Regions from separate parts of the Homo sapiens genome. Here region 2 is linked to region 1. The links are contacts of gene promoters, found by promoter capture Hi-C in blood cells and fetal thymus (Javierre and others, 2016). All regions are on one chromosome and are shown on one strand. The core of a region is centred on a gene start or on the middle of the fragment in contact, and the rest is flanking DNA. Distances in the headings are between cores, read along the strand shown.

What was found. The method cuts DNA at HindIII sites, captures the fragments that hold promoters and counts their contacts. A CHiCAGO score of 5 or more calls a contact.
Region 2: a contact is called between a fragment that was not itself captured here and the fragment with the promoter of LCAT in region 1, in 1 of 17 cell types (non-activated CD4 T cells). The highest score is 5.3, in non-activated CD4 T cells.

Annotation. Positions count from the first base shown.
Region 1 is chr16:67,942,870-67,948,923 of GRCh38, reverse strand. It overlaps LCAT (lecithin-cholesterol acyltransferase), which reads left to right and starts at 4,804. Exons shown (of 6, transcript NM_000229.2): 1 at 4,804-4,976; 2 at 5,712-5,868; 3 at 5,948-6,054. The coding sequence starts at 4,823. It overlaps SLC12A4 (solute carrier family 12 member 4), which reads left to right. Exons shown (of 24, transcript NM_005072.5): 14 at 765-863; 15 at 1,136-1,255; 16 at 1,489-1,593; 17 at 1,819-1,987; 18 at 2,291-2,486; 19 at 2,584-2,753; 20 at 2,842-2,973; 21 at 3,053-3,160; 22 at 3,371-3,555; 23 at 3,704-3,837; 24 at 3,993-5,450. The coding sequence ends at 4,084. RefSeq lists an enhancer at 5,673-6,054. The HindIII fragment of the contact is 31,685 bases long and covers 1-5,124 here.
Region 2 is chr16:68,025,840-68,031,893 of GRCh38, reverse strand. The region is part of intron 2 of DUS2 (dihydrouridine synthase 2); the gene reads right to left. Among named protein-coding and RNA genes, the nearest start is that of DUS2, 5.6 kb to the right of the region's middle. The HindIII fragment of the contact is 2,127 bases long and covers 1,830-3,956 here.

The DNA of each region.
Region 1 (6,054 bases), core at 3,555-6,054:
GGGGCCCTGTACCCCTGAGCAGGCTCCATCCCAGCTACAGCCAGGCCTGCTGGAGCCAGCACCCTCTTGTCCACCCCCCCACACCCCTTCCTCTCACCCAAGAGCACACCTGAAACTGTTTTGCCACAGCCATCTTGGGTGGTGACCCCCCTTGTGCCCAAATCAGAGGCTACATCTCAGCCTTTATCTCGGGCCTCCTGCTGGGAGCCCCTGCCCCCTGGCATGCCCTGTGTGGGTCCTCCTGCCTTCCTGCGCACCCGTCCTCGGGTGCCTTCCTGGAGGGCTCATGCAGCTGGCCCTGCCCATGCGTGGGACTCCCACGCCCACCGCAGTGACTCTTAAGTATCTCTGACTGGTTGCATTCAAATGGTCCAGCTTATCTTCCATCCTCCCCTTCATGCATGGCAGCCTCTCATCCAGCTGGTCACTCAGGCCAGAGGCCTGAATGTGGCCTAGAGTCTCCAGGCACTGAGCTCTTCCTGCTGCCCCTGCACCACCCTCTTCAGCTCTGCCCTGTTACTCCCCTTCCTACCTCCTCCAACAGCAAACCCTTGCCCATCCTCTGCGATCTGGCTCCGAGGACTCCTCCACAGTAGTCTCATTGCCTCAGGCCATGGAGGTGGCAGCAATGAGGTTGAGAAGACCTTGCTGAGCCATGCAGGGCAGGGCCGGGCCACGCCCCGTTTCTGGGCCAGGCCCAGCCTGACATCAGGTCCCCAGCTGCCGAGGAGGCTGCTCTTCGCCAACCGCCCTCTGTGCCGCAGGTTCTTTCTGATGTGCTACCTGTTCGTGAACCTCGCCTGTGCGGTGCAGACACTCCTGAGGACCCCCAACTGGCGGCCCCGGTTCAAGTACTATCACTGGTGAGCCATGCCTCTGACACGGGAGACCCTGGGGAGGCCAGGAGCCTCATTCTGGGTGAGGCTTGGGTTTCCTGGGTAGGGAGCTCTTGAAACACTGTGGGGAGGGAGATTATAGGGCTGCGGGGGACTGGACCTAGGTCTTACACCCAGTGACCTGACCACCCACCTGGGACCTCCCACCCGGGACCTGACAGGGCTACCAGGGCATGGGCCAGGCTGTGGCCAGGGGTCCTCCTGGTCCTGCCCTGACTCTGCCCTCCCCTCTCGTCCAGGGCGCTGTCCTTCCTGGGCATGAGTCTCTGCCTGGCCCTTATGTTTGTCTCCTCCTGGTACTATGCCCTGGTGGCCATGCTCATCGCCGGCATGATCTACAAATACATCGAGTACCAAGGGTGAGTGAGCACTGCCACCTGGCCTCTGCCAGCTGAGGGGGCCCGGCCGAGCAGGCAGGGTGGTCTGGCATTGGGGTGGGCAGGGAGCTGGGCCACCGTGGGTGCCAGGACTGGGGACTGTAACTCAGGACCCCTGGGTGGTCTTGAGGGGCAGAACCCCTCCACCTCGCATCCACATAGACAGAACCCCCTGGGCGGCACCAGGGGCTCACCAGCTGTGGTGGAATCTGCAGGGCTGAGAAGGAGTGGGGTGACGGGATCCGAGGCCTGTCCCTGAGCGCTGCCCGCTACGCGCTGTTGCGGCTGGAGGAGGGGCCTCCTCACACCAAGAACTGGCGGTGAGTTCCCGCCAGACCCTGGCCAGGGCGCAGAGGTTCTTAGGGGTCGCTGTCGGGGTCAGAGGGTCGAGAGGTGCCGGCTCCCCATCCTGGGGCTGCCCGGGGCACCCTCCTGGGCCATGCTACCCAAACCTGCAGGGACCACGACCCGAGAAGGGAAGAAGAGGAGGGGCTCCCTAGAACGGCCGGCCCTGGTCTCAGGCTCCCCCCACCCGGCCACTGCAGGCCGCAGCTGCTGGTGCTGCTGAAGCTGGACGAGGACCTCCACGTGAAGTACCCGCGGCTCCTCACCTTCGCCTCCCAGCTCAAGGCTGGCAAGGGCCTGACCATTGTTGGTTCTGTCATCCAGGGGAGCTTCTTGGAGAGCTATGGCGAGGCTCAGGCCGCCGAGCAGGTACTTGCTTTGGGGAGGGAGAGCTGAGCCAGACTACAGGGGTCTGGACTGCAGCTGGCACGGAGGGGAGGGCCCAGTCTTGGCCAGGGTGGCCAGCCAGGCAGCCAGCACTGCTGCCACCTGAGAGCTGGCACAAGGGGGAGCCAGCAGTCCCATCTTGAAAACTTGGCCTCTGGGTAGGCAGCTTGTTGCCCCCAGGCCCTCCTCCACCCAAAAGTCGTTTTGTTCCCGAGGGGCCTTGGGAGGGAGCCCAGAGGCAGGAAGCTGATGGCCTCCCATTGGCCCTGGGTGTGTTCCCCACAGACCATCAAGAACATGATGGAAATTGAGAAGGTGAAGGGCTTCTGCCAGGTGGTGGTGGCCAGCAAGGTGCGGGAGGGGCTGGCCCACCTCATCCAGTCCTGTGGCCTGGGAGGCATGCGGCATAACTCCGTGGTGCTGGGCTGGCCCTACGGCTGGCGACAGAGCGAGGACCCCCGTGCCTGGAAGACCTTCATTGGTGTGTGAAGGCCTGGGGCCTGGTGGGCAGGGGTGAAGTGAGGTGGCAGTGGGCGGAGGGCCACAGACTGGTGGTCAGCCGTGCTCCTCCTCCCCAGACACCGTGCGCTGCACTACGGCTGCCCACCTGGCCCTGCTCGTGCCCAAGAACATCGCCTTCTACCCCAGCAACCACGAGCGCTACCTGGAGGGCCACATAGACGTGTGGTGGATCGTGCACGATGGTGGCATGCTCATGCTTCTGCCCTTCCTGCTGCGCCAGCATAAGGTAGACCAGGGGGTGGGTGCAGATGAGAGGGGCTAGGCCCTTGGAGGAGCAGCTGTGACCAAACCGCCCACCTGGTCCCTTGCCTCAGGTCTGGAGGAAGTGCCGGATGCGCATCTTCACAGTGGCCCAGATGGATGACAACAGCATCCAGATGAAGAAGGACCTGGCTGTCTTTCTGTACCATCTGCGCCTTGAGGCCGAGGTGGAGGTGGTGGAGATGGTGAGCCCTCTGCCCTGCCCTGGCCCCGTGGATACCATGTCCCGTGCAGCTGGGTCCTCACGGCCAACCCTGTCCCCAGCATAACAGTGACATCTCTGCATACACCTACGAGCGGACGCTGATGATGGAGCAGCGGTCGCAGATGCTGCGGCAGATGAGACTGACCAAGACTGAGCGGGAGCGAGAAGTCAGTGCCCTTTGTGGTTCACGCCAGGGCGGGTGGCAGGGTCAGGCCTTTGGAGACCGCATCGGTGGGTGCGGAGGAATCAGAATGACTCACCGCAGCCCTACCCAAGCTAGTGCTCATTTCCCGGAGGCAAGGTGGTCACATTGGGCCAGACAGGCCCCATCCCCCTTTTCCTATGGGACCAAGGCTATCTCCTGCAATTGTCCTCAGGCCCAGCTGGTCAAGGATCGGCACTCGGCCCTGCGGCTGGAGAGCCTGTACTCGGACGAGGAAGATGAGTCTGCAGTGGGGGCTGACAAGATCCAGATGACGTGGACCAGGGACAAGTACATGACTGAGACCTGGGACCCCAGCCATGCCCCTGACAATTTCCGGGAGCTGGTGCACATTAAGCCGTGAGTGCAGCAAAAACAGCCCCAGCGGCACTGGAATCTAGGGGTGGAGGTGGGGTGGGGCAGACAAGTAGTGTTAGATGGGCCAGGGGTGGGGACCCTCCTTGCAGGATGGCTCATGGCGACCTGTGACTGGCTACACTACGTGTAGGGACCAATCCAATGTGCGGCGCATGCACACTGCTGTGAAGCTCAATGAAGTCATTGTCACGCGCTCCCACGACGCCCGCCTGGTTCTCCTAAACATGCCTGGCCCACCCAGGAACAGTGAGGGCGACGAGAACTGTATCCCTTTGTGGAGAGGCAGGCAGTTGGGAGGTGGATAGCATGGGAGGTCAAGCCAGCGGCTTCTCTCCTGGGCACCCCTGGGTGGGCATGGCCCAGGTGGCCCGGGTTGCCCGTTGATTCTGTTGTTGCCTCCTTGACTTGAGGCCCTGCAGACATGGAGTTCCTCGAGGTGCTGACCGAGGGCCTTGAGCGGGTGCTGTTGGTGCGCGGTGGTGGCCGTGAAGTCATCACCATCTACTCCTGAGCCCAGTGTCATCTTGTGGCCTGGAGTCGAGGTCTTGGCCAGGACATAACAAGCTGTGGTCTGGGGTAACAGCCTCTTCCCAGCACCCACCTGCCAGCCCTGCTTGCCTGGCCCTGTCCTGGACCCAGCTTTGCTAGGTCTCCTTGGAAACCAGGCCTGGGCCTCAAAATGGAGATGGATCCCAGGTCTTGTGGGACCCTGGGATGTTTGGGGACTTTACTATCTAGCACCCCAGTAGGCCTGTCCTGGCCAGAGAAGACTGGTAGGGGCCGAGTGGGGTTTGAAGGCAGCCGGCCCGGCCCAGCCCAGGAGCGCTATTTATTGCATATTTATTGTTTGGATGTCACCATCAGAGACGAAGGGAAGGGTAGCCAGGGAGGGAGTCCAGCCCAGCTGCCTGCAGGAAGATCTGGCTCAGTCTACTATGGGCAGGGCCCCCCACCAAGCTGAGCCGAATGGAGACAGCTGAGCTGAGGCCTGACTTTTTCAATAAAACATTGTGTAGTTCTGGGCCTCCTGCTGCCCCGGCTCTGTTTCCCCTGGCGCCAAGAGAAGAAGGCGGAACTGAACCCAGGCCCAGAGCCGGCTCCCTGAGGCTGTGCCCCTTTCCGGCAATCTCTGGCCACAACCCCCACTGGCCAGGCCGTCCCTCCCACTGGCCCTAGGGCCCCTCCCACTCCCACACCAGATAAGGACAGCCCAGTGCCGCTTTCTCTGGCAGTAGGCACCAGGGCTGGAATGGGGCCGCCCGGCTCCCCATGGCAGTGGGTGACGCTGCTGCTGGGGCTGCTGCTCCCTCCTGCCGCCCCCTTCTGGCTCCTCAATGTGCTCTTCCCCCCGCACACCACGCCCAAGGCTGAGCTCAGTAACCACACACGGCCCGTCATCCTCGGTAAGCCCCCACCAGGCCCCTGATGCACCACGCCAGACCCTGGGGAGCCTGGGCCCCAGCCCCTGGCAGCTGACCTGGCCAAAGCCCTTCTGCCCTGCATAAGCCCCGACATAAGTACCTGCCCTGGTGTGGGGAGGGGCCAAAAGCTTGTCCCTTAGAGGAATGACGTCCCTTCTCCCACCACACTGTGACTCTCAGTTGTCTAACCCAGGGGGGGCGGAGTGGGGGACGGGGTGTGCCTGAGGTCTTGGCTGGGGCATCACAAGCTGTGGTCAGTCACAGCCACACCAGACTCTGGGCCAAGCCCCACCACTCCTTCCTTGGCCCCCACCCACCAAGGACAAGATGCCCAGCCCAGGATCGGTGAGCAGGAGAGGCCCATCCATGCCCGGCCCCTATTAGGCCCAGCCCCCATGCCCCCAGACCTATCTGTTCCCACCTTGGACTTTGGCAATAAAGGAGCGCCAGACTGGGTGTTTGCTCTGCAGAGGCAGGGGTCAGCGGCCTTGGCCTCAGCACCTCAGCGCCTTCCCTTCCTCAGGGAAGCCTGGGCTTTGGCTACTGGGGGGACAGCAGGGAGAGGGGGTGTAAGCAGGGGAGGGTAAGTGTGCTTTGTACCTGGGGGTTGAGGGTATGGGAGGTGGGGGGTGGGTCTGGTCACTGCAGCATCTGGGGTGACGGGGGTAAGGGTCACGGGGGGAATCCAGAGTCCAGAGTGAGGGCTGCTGCTCACAGTGCCCGGCTGCCTGGGGAATCAGCTAGAAGCCAAGCTGGACAAACCAGATGTGGTGAACTGGATGTGCTACCGCAAGACAGAGGACTTCTTCACCATCTGGCTGGATCTCAACATGTTCCTACCCCTTGGGGTAGACTGCTGGATCGATAACACCAGGTACAGCCATGTGCTCCACCCTAGCCCCAACACGCTGCCCCTTGGCTACTGGCTGCTGAGTGGCACCCCCGCCCCGCAGGGTTGTCTACAACCGGAGCTCTGGGCTCGTGTCCAACGCCCCTGGTGTCCAGATCCGCGTCCCTGGCTTTGGCAAGACCTACTCTGTGGAGTACCTGGACAGCAGCA
Region 2 (6,054 bases), core at 1,644-4,143, 85 kb before region 1:
ATGAAACCCTGTCTCTACTAAAAATAAAAAAATTAGCCAGGCATGGTGGTGTGCACCTGCAATCCCAGCTACTCGGGAGGCTGAAGCAGGAGAATCACTCAAACCAGGGAGGCAGAGGTTGCAGTTAGCCAAGATCGCACCACTGCCCTCCAGCCTGGGCAACAGAGTGAGATTCCATCTCAAAAAATAAAAAATAATAACCTTAACTTCAGTTACATGGACATAATATCCTGTTAACCTTAAAAAAAAAAGACATTAAAGAAAAATACCTCCAAACATGTTGAGTTTATTTGAGAATGAGAGAAAAGGATTATAATCCAGGATGCACAGAAGGGCAAGCCACAAGTACATCTGGTGACAGAAGGGGAAAAGGAAGCTTTTATTGGCAGAAAGGGAGAGATTTATATAAGTTGCTTAGAAACAGAGTTCATGGCCAGACACAGTGGCTCATGCCTGTAATCCTAGCACTTTGGGAGGCCAAGGCAGGCGGATCACGAGGTAAAGAGATCAAGACCATCCTGGCCAACATGGTGAAACCCCGTCTCTACTAAAAATACAAAAATTAGCTGGGTGTGGCGGCGCATGCCTGTAGTCGCAGCTACTCAGGAAGCTGAGGCAGGAGAATCGCTTGAACCCGGGAGGCAGAGGTTGCAGTGAGAGATCACGCCACTGCATTCCAGCCTGGTGACAGAGCGAGACTCATCTCCAAAAAAGAAAAAAAAGAGTTCATGAGTTTCCTAGAGGATCAAAGCCAGAGTTGTCTTCAGTTCACTGGTGGAGATGCCATTACTGGGCAAGTATTCTTTCCAGAGCATTTTATCTGAATTACAATAGTCCTAAAAAATGTCTATGCCAGGCAAGGTGGCTCACACCTGTAATCCCATCACTTTGGGAGGCCAAGGCAGGAGGATCACTCAAGGCCAGGAGTTTGGGACCAGCCTGGGCAACATAGCAAGATCCCATCTCTACCAAAAATATATATATATTTTTTAACTAGCCAGGAGTGATGGAAGGTGCCTGCAGTCCCAGCCACTCTGGGAGGCTTAAGCAGAAGAATCATTGGGAGTCCAAGAGTTCGATGCAGCAGTGAGCCATGATTGTGCAACTGTACTCCAGCCTGGGTGACAGAGCAAGGCCCTGTCTCCAAAAAAAAGAAAAAGAAAACCAAAATGTCTACTGATAAACTTTTGTCATAGAAATATATATACATATGCAAAACATGCAAGCCATGCAAAGCAGGTAATTCAAGAAAGACATGAAGGGATTTCTAGTGGGTTTTTATTTATTTATTTATTTATTTTTTGAGATGGAGTCTCACTCTGTCACCCAGGCTAGAGTACAGTGGCATGATCTTGGCTCACTGCAATCTCCACCTCCGAGGTTCGAGCAATTCTCCTGCCTCAGCCTCCTGATTAGCTGGGACAAAAATTAACCACCATGCCCGGCCAATTTTTGTGTTTTCAGTAGAGACGGGGTTTCACCATGTTGGCCAGACTCGTCTTGAACTCCTGACCTCAAGTGATCCACCCGCCTCAGCCTCCCAAAGTGCTGGGATTGCAGATGTGAGTCACCACTCCTGGCCTCCGGTGGGGTTTTTAGAAAATCCTTGGAAACAGTTCTTATCTCAGACATGTAAGCATGAGCTTCCTCTACTTCACACCTTCCTTGTCCTATTTTGACAAAAGCGGTTTCATCCTGGTATCTGCAACTTTCATAATCCCATTAATTATAGTGCTTTCAGATTGAACATAACACTATTCAGGAAAAATAATGAGTATAAACAAACTTTACCATTCCCTTCCCTGTCAATTTTCCCCAAAGACAAAGCTTGCTTAAAAAGCAATTTCTGGCCAGGCATGGTGGCTCACACCTGTAATCCCAGCACTTTGGGAGGCTGAGGCGGGAGGATCGTTTGAGGCCAGGAGTTCAAGACCAGCCCAGGCAACATAATAAGACACCACCTCTACAAAAAATTAGCGGGGCATGGTGGTACACACCTGTGGTCCTAGGTACTCCACCTGCCTCAGCCTCCCAAAGTGTTGGGATTACAGGCGTGAGCCACTGCATCCAGCTCTAAAATTCAAATTTGGAAAGTCAACTAGAATCAAGTATTTACAGAATTATCTTATTTCCTAATCTGAACATGTGGCTGGGTCCAGTGGCTCATGCCTATAATCCCAACACTTTGGGAGGCCAAGGTGGGCAGATTACCTGAGCTCAGTAGTTCAAGACCAGCCTGGGCAACATGGCAAACCCCATCTATACCAAAAAATACAAAAATTAGCCGGGTATGGTGGTGCAGGCCTGTTATCCCACCTACTTGGGGGGCTGAGGCAGGAGAATCACTTGAACTTGTGAGGTGGAGGCTGCAGTGAGCCAAGATCGTATCACTGCACTCCAGCCTGGAAATTGGAGCAAGACTCTGCCTCAAAAAAATAAAAAAAGTGTAAATACACCAGGTGTGGTAGCTCACACCTGTAATCCTAACACTGGGAGGTTGAGGCAAGAGGATCATTTGAGCCCAAGAGTTCAAGACCAGTCAGGGCAACATAGTAAGACCCCATCTCTATTAAAAATAAAAATTAAAAACAAAAATTAAAAACAGAAAACAAAATACATGCACATGACAAAAAGTAAAAATGATTTGTTAGATTTGAGGAGAAAGAGGTGATATAGCTTTTTTTTTTTAGAGATGGGACCTTGCTGTGTTGCCCAGGCTGGAGTGCAGCGGCACAATCATGGCTCACTGCAGTCCCAAACTCCTGGGCTCTAGTGATCCTCCCATCTCAGCATCCGGAGTAACTGGGACTACAGGCATGTTCCACCACATCTAGCTAATTTTGTGTTTAAATTTTTCTGTAGCGATACAGTCTTGCTATGTTGCTCAGGCTAGTCTCCAACTCCTGGCCTCTAGCGATCCTCCTGCCTAACCTTCTGAAGTGCTGGAATCAGGCGTGACCCACTGTGCCCAGCCCTGATACAGCATTTCATAGTTAAGATCCTGAGCTCTGGAATTGGACAGACCTTCACTTGAATCCCAGCTGTGCCTCGGGCACATTAATTAACCCAGCTGAGCCTCAGCTTCTCCTTGTGGAATATGAGGCTCCACTATGGGAGTCAAAGGAAATGCTGTGAAGAGTGAATTCCATGGTGTACCACAGTTCTCAGCACATAGTAAAGGCTTAATAAATGTTAGCCACTCTCATCATGCTTTCACGGTTTCAACACTCTATTTTTTGTTTGTTTGTTTGTTTTGAGACGGAGTCTCCTACTGTCTCCCAGGATGGAGTGCAGTGGCGTGATCTCAGCTCACTGCAACCTCCGCCTCCCGGGTTCAAGCAATTCTCTTGCCTCAGCCTCTCGAGTAGCTGGGATTACAGGTGCCCACCACCACGCCCAGCTAATTTTTTGTATTTTTTTTTAGTAGGGATGGGGTTTCACCATGTTGGCCAGACTGGTCTCAAACTCCTGACTTCGTGATTCACCCGCCTTGGCCTCCCAAAGTGCTGGGATTACAGGTGTGAGCCACCGCGCCTGGCCTCTAACGTCTATTATTATGTTGTTATATCGACAAACATCTGCTAGCTCTTTTAAGATCAAGGCAGCGTGTGAGGTATAAAGACACGGAAAGCACTAAGCTCTTAACCTCAAAGAGCTTCTCAGCTCTACAACTGCCATCATCTATCAACTGAACCATGACAACAGTCTCCAAACCAGTCTCTCTGCCTCCAGGCTTATCACTTCCAATCCATGCTCCTTCCAGCCAAAGGGCTCTTTCCAAACGCAAAGATATGATACGCAAAACATGATAGTTCCATTTCTGGACGCCTTCCCTACTGCCTGTAAAATTAAGTCTACACTCTTTAACACAGTAAATATAAGGTCTGGTCTCCACCTTCCATAGAAGCCTCTTTCATCACCTGCCTCCTGCCCTCAGAACTCCCCCATGCTAAGCTTCAGCTATTCTTAAATATTTCTAGTTCCCCAGCCTGGCCTGCTCTCTCTCAGTATGGGATCTCTGAACAAGCTGTCCCTGCCCAGGGGCCACGTCCCTATTCTTCCACCTGGCTGACTCCCTGTAGACTTTTAGAACCTCATCACCTCCTCCTGGAAGCCTTCTCTGACCAACATCTCCCAAAACAGGGTAAAGGCATCTCTGAGCTCATTCCTGTCCTGGCATGGAGCTATCCTGGCAACTATTAATAGAAGAGCAACTATCTGTCAATATGCCTTCTTCACTGTAAGGTGAAAATAGGCACTGTGGCTTGTTCATCACCAGATCCTCATCAGAGAGCATACAATCTGGCATATGGTAGATGCTTAGTGTTTGCTGTAAAAAGAAGTTAATGGCAGCCGGGTGAGGTGGCTCACGCCTGTAATCCCAGCACTTTGGGAGGCCAAGGCAGGCGGATTACCTAAAGTCGGGAGTTTGAGACCAGACCAGCCTGACCAACATGGAGAAACCACGTCTCTACTAAAAATACAAAATTAGCCGGGTGTGGTGGCGCATGCCTGTAATCCCAGCTACTTGGGAGGCTGAGGCAAGAGAATCACTTGAACCCGGGAGGCGGAGGTCACAGTAAGCTGAGATCATGCCACTGCACTCTAGCCTGGGCAACAAGAGCAAAACTCCATCTCCAAAAAAAAAAAAAAACAAGAAGTTAATGGACCAAGTGCAACAAGAGCTATGATCCACTCCATGCTTCAGTCACAGAAGAACTCTATCCCAGCCAAAGTGCATTTAAAGTGCTTTGTTATCACTCAAGTTTGGTTTTAGAGGAGACGAATGACTACTCCAATCTCTGGCTTACCCAGTAAAGGACTACAAGCCCTTTGGCCAACTTGCATGGAGCCATCACTTGAGTGAACAAGATTCACATAAGAAAGCAACAGAAGAGGTTGAGCCCAATTCTGGATACTGATTAGGAAATAATCTGCAGGCAACAAGGATTCATGAATGGCTTTTGAGTCAAAGGGTAACATGGCCATAGCTGTGCTTTTTTTTTTTTTTTTTTTTTCAGATAGACTCTTGCTCTATCACCCAGTCTGGAATGCAATGGCACAATCTCAGGTCACTGCAACCTCCGCCTCCCGGGTTCAAGCAATTCTTCCACTTCAGCCTCCCGAGTAGCTGGGATTACAGGTGCCTGCCACCATGCTCAGCTAATTTTTGTATTTTTGTAAAGAAAGGGTTTCACCACGTTTGCCAGACTGGTCTTGAACTCCTGACCTCGTGATCTGCCCGCCTTGGCCTCTCAAAGTGCTGGGATTACAGGCGTGAGCCACCACACCAGGCCTAGCTGTGCTTTAATAACATCACTCGGGAAACAGAAGGTAGACCAGAGGGTAAAAAACAAAGAGCAGGTAGGGAGCTGGATGAGAAGGAAGGTCAAAGGGTCCAGGAATACTATAGTGATAATGACTGAAAATATGATTACCTGCGCACAGCCCTGCTACAGGTGGGAAAATGGAGGAACAATAAAGTAATACCAATAGCACTTTTTATTGCTGTAATGCTTTGCAATTCCCAAAGTGCTTCATTTATAACTGTGATTCTCAAGCCTAGTTACATCTGGAGAGGTTTCTAAAAATACCAATTTCTCGGCTGGGCACAATGGCTCACATCTGTAATCCCAGCACTTCGGGAGGCCAAGGCAGGCAGATCAACTGAGGTCAGGAGTTCGAGATCAGCCTGGTCAAAATGGCAAAACCTCATCTCTACTAAAAATACAGAAATTAGCCGGGTTTGGTAGCACGTGCCTGTAATCCCACCTACTGGGGTGGCTGAGGCAGAAGAATCACTTGAACCTGGGAGGCAGAGGTTACAGTGAGTCGAGATGGCACCACTGAAGTCTAGCCTGGGTGACAGAGCAAGACCTTGTCTAGGCCTTAACCCAAATCAATTAAATCAGAATGTAAACTCCACAAGGGCAGGGATTTTGGCTGTTTTCCTCACTACCAATGCCTGGCACATGCGTGGTGCTCAGGAAGTATTTGTTGAATGAATGATTGAATGAATGAATGAATATACCATTATTAACTGAGATCCAAGGA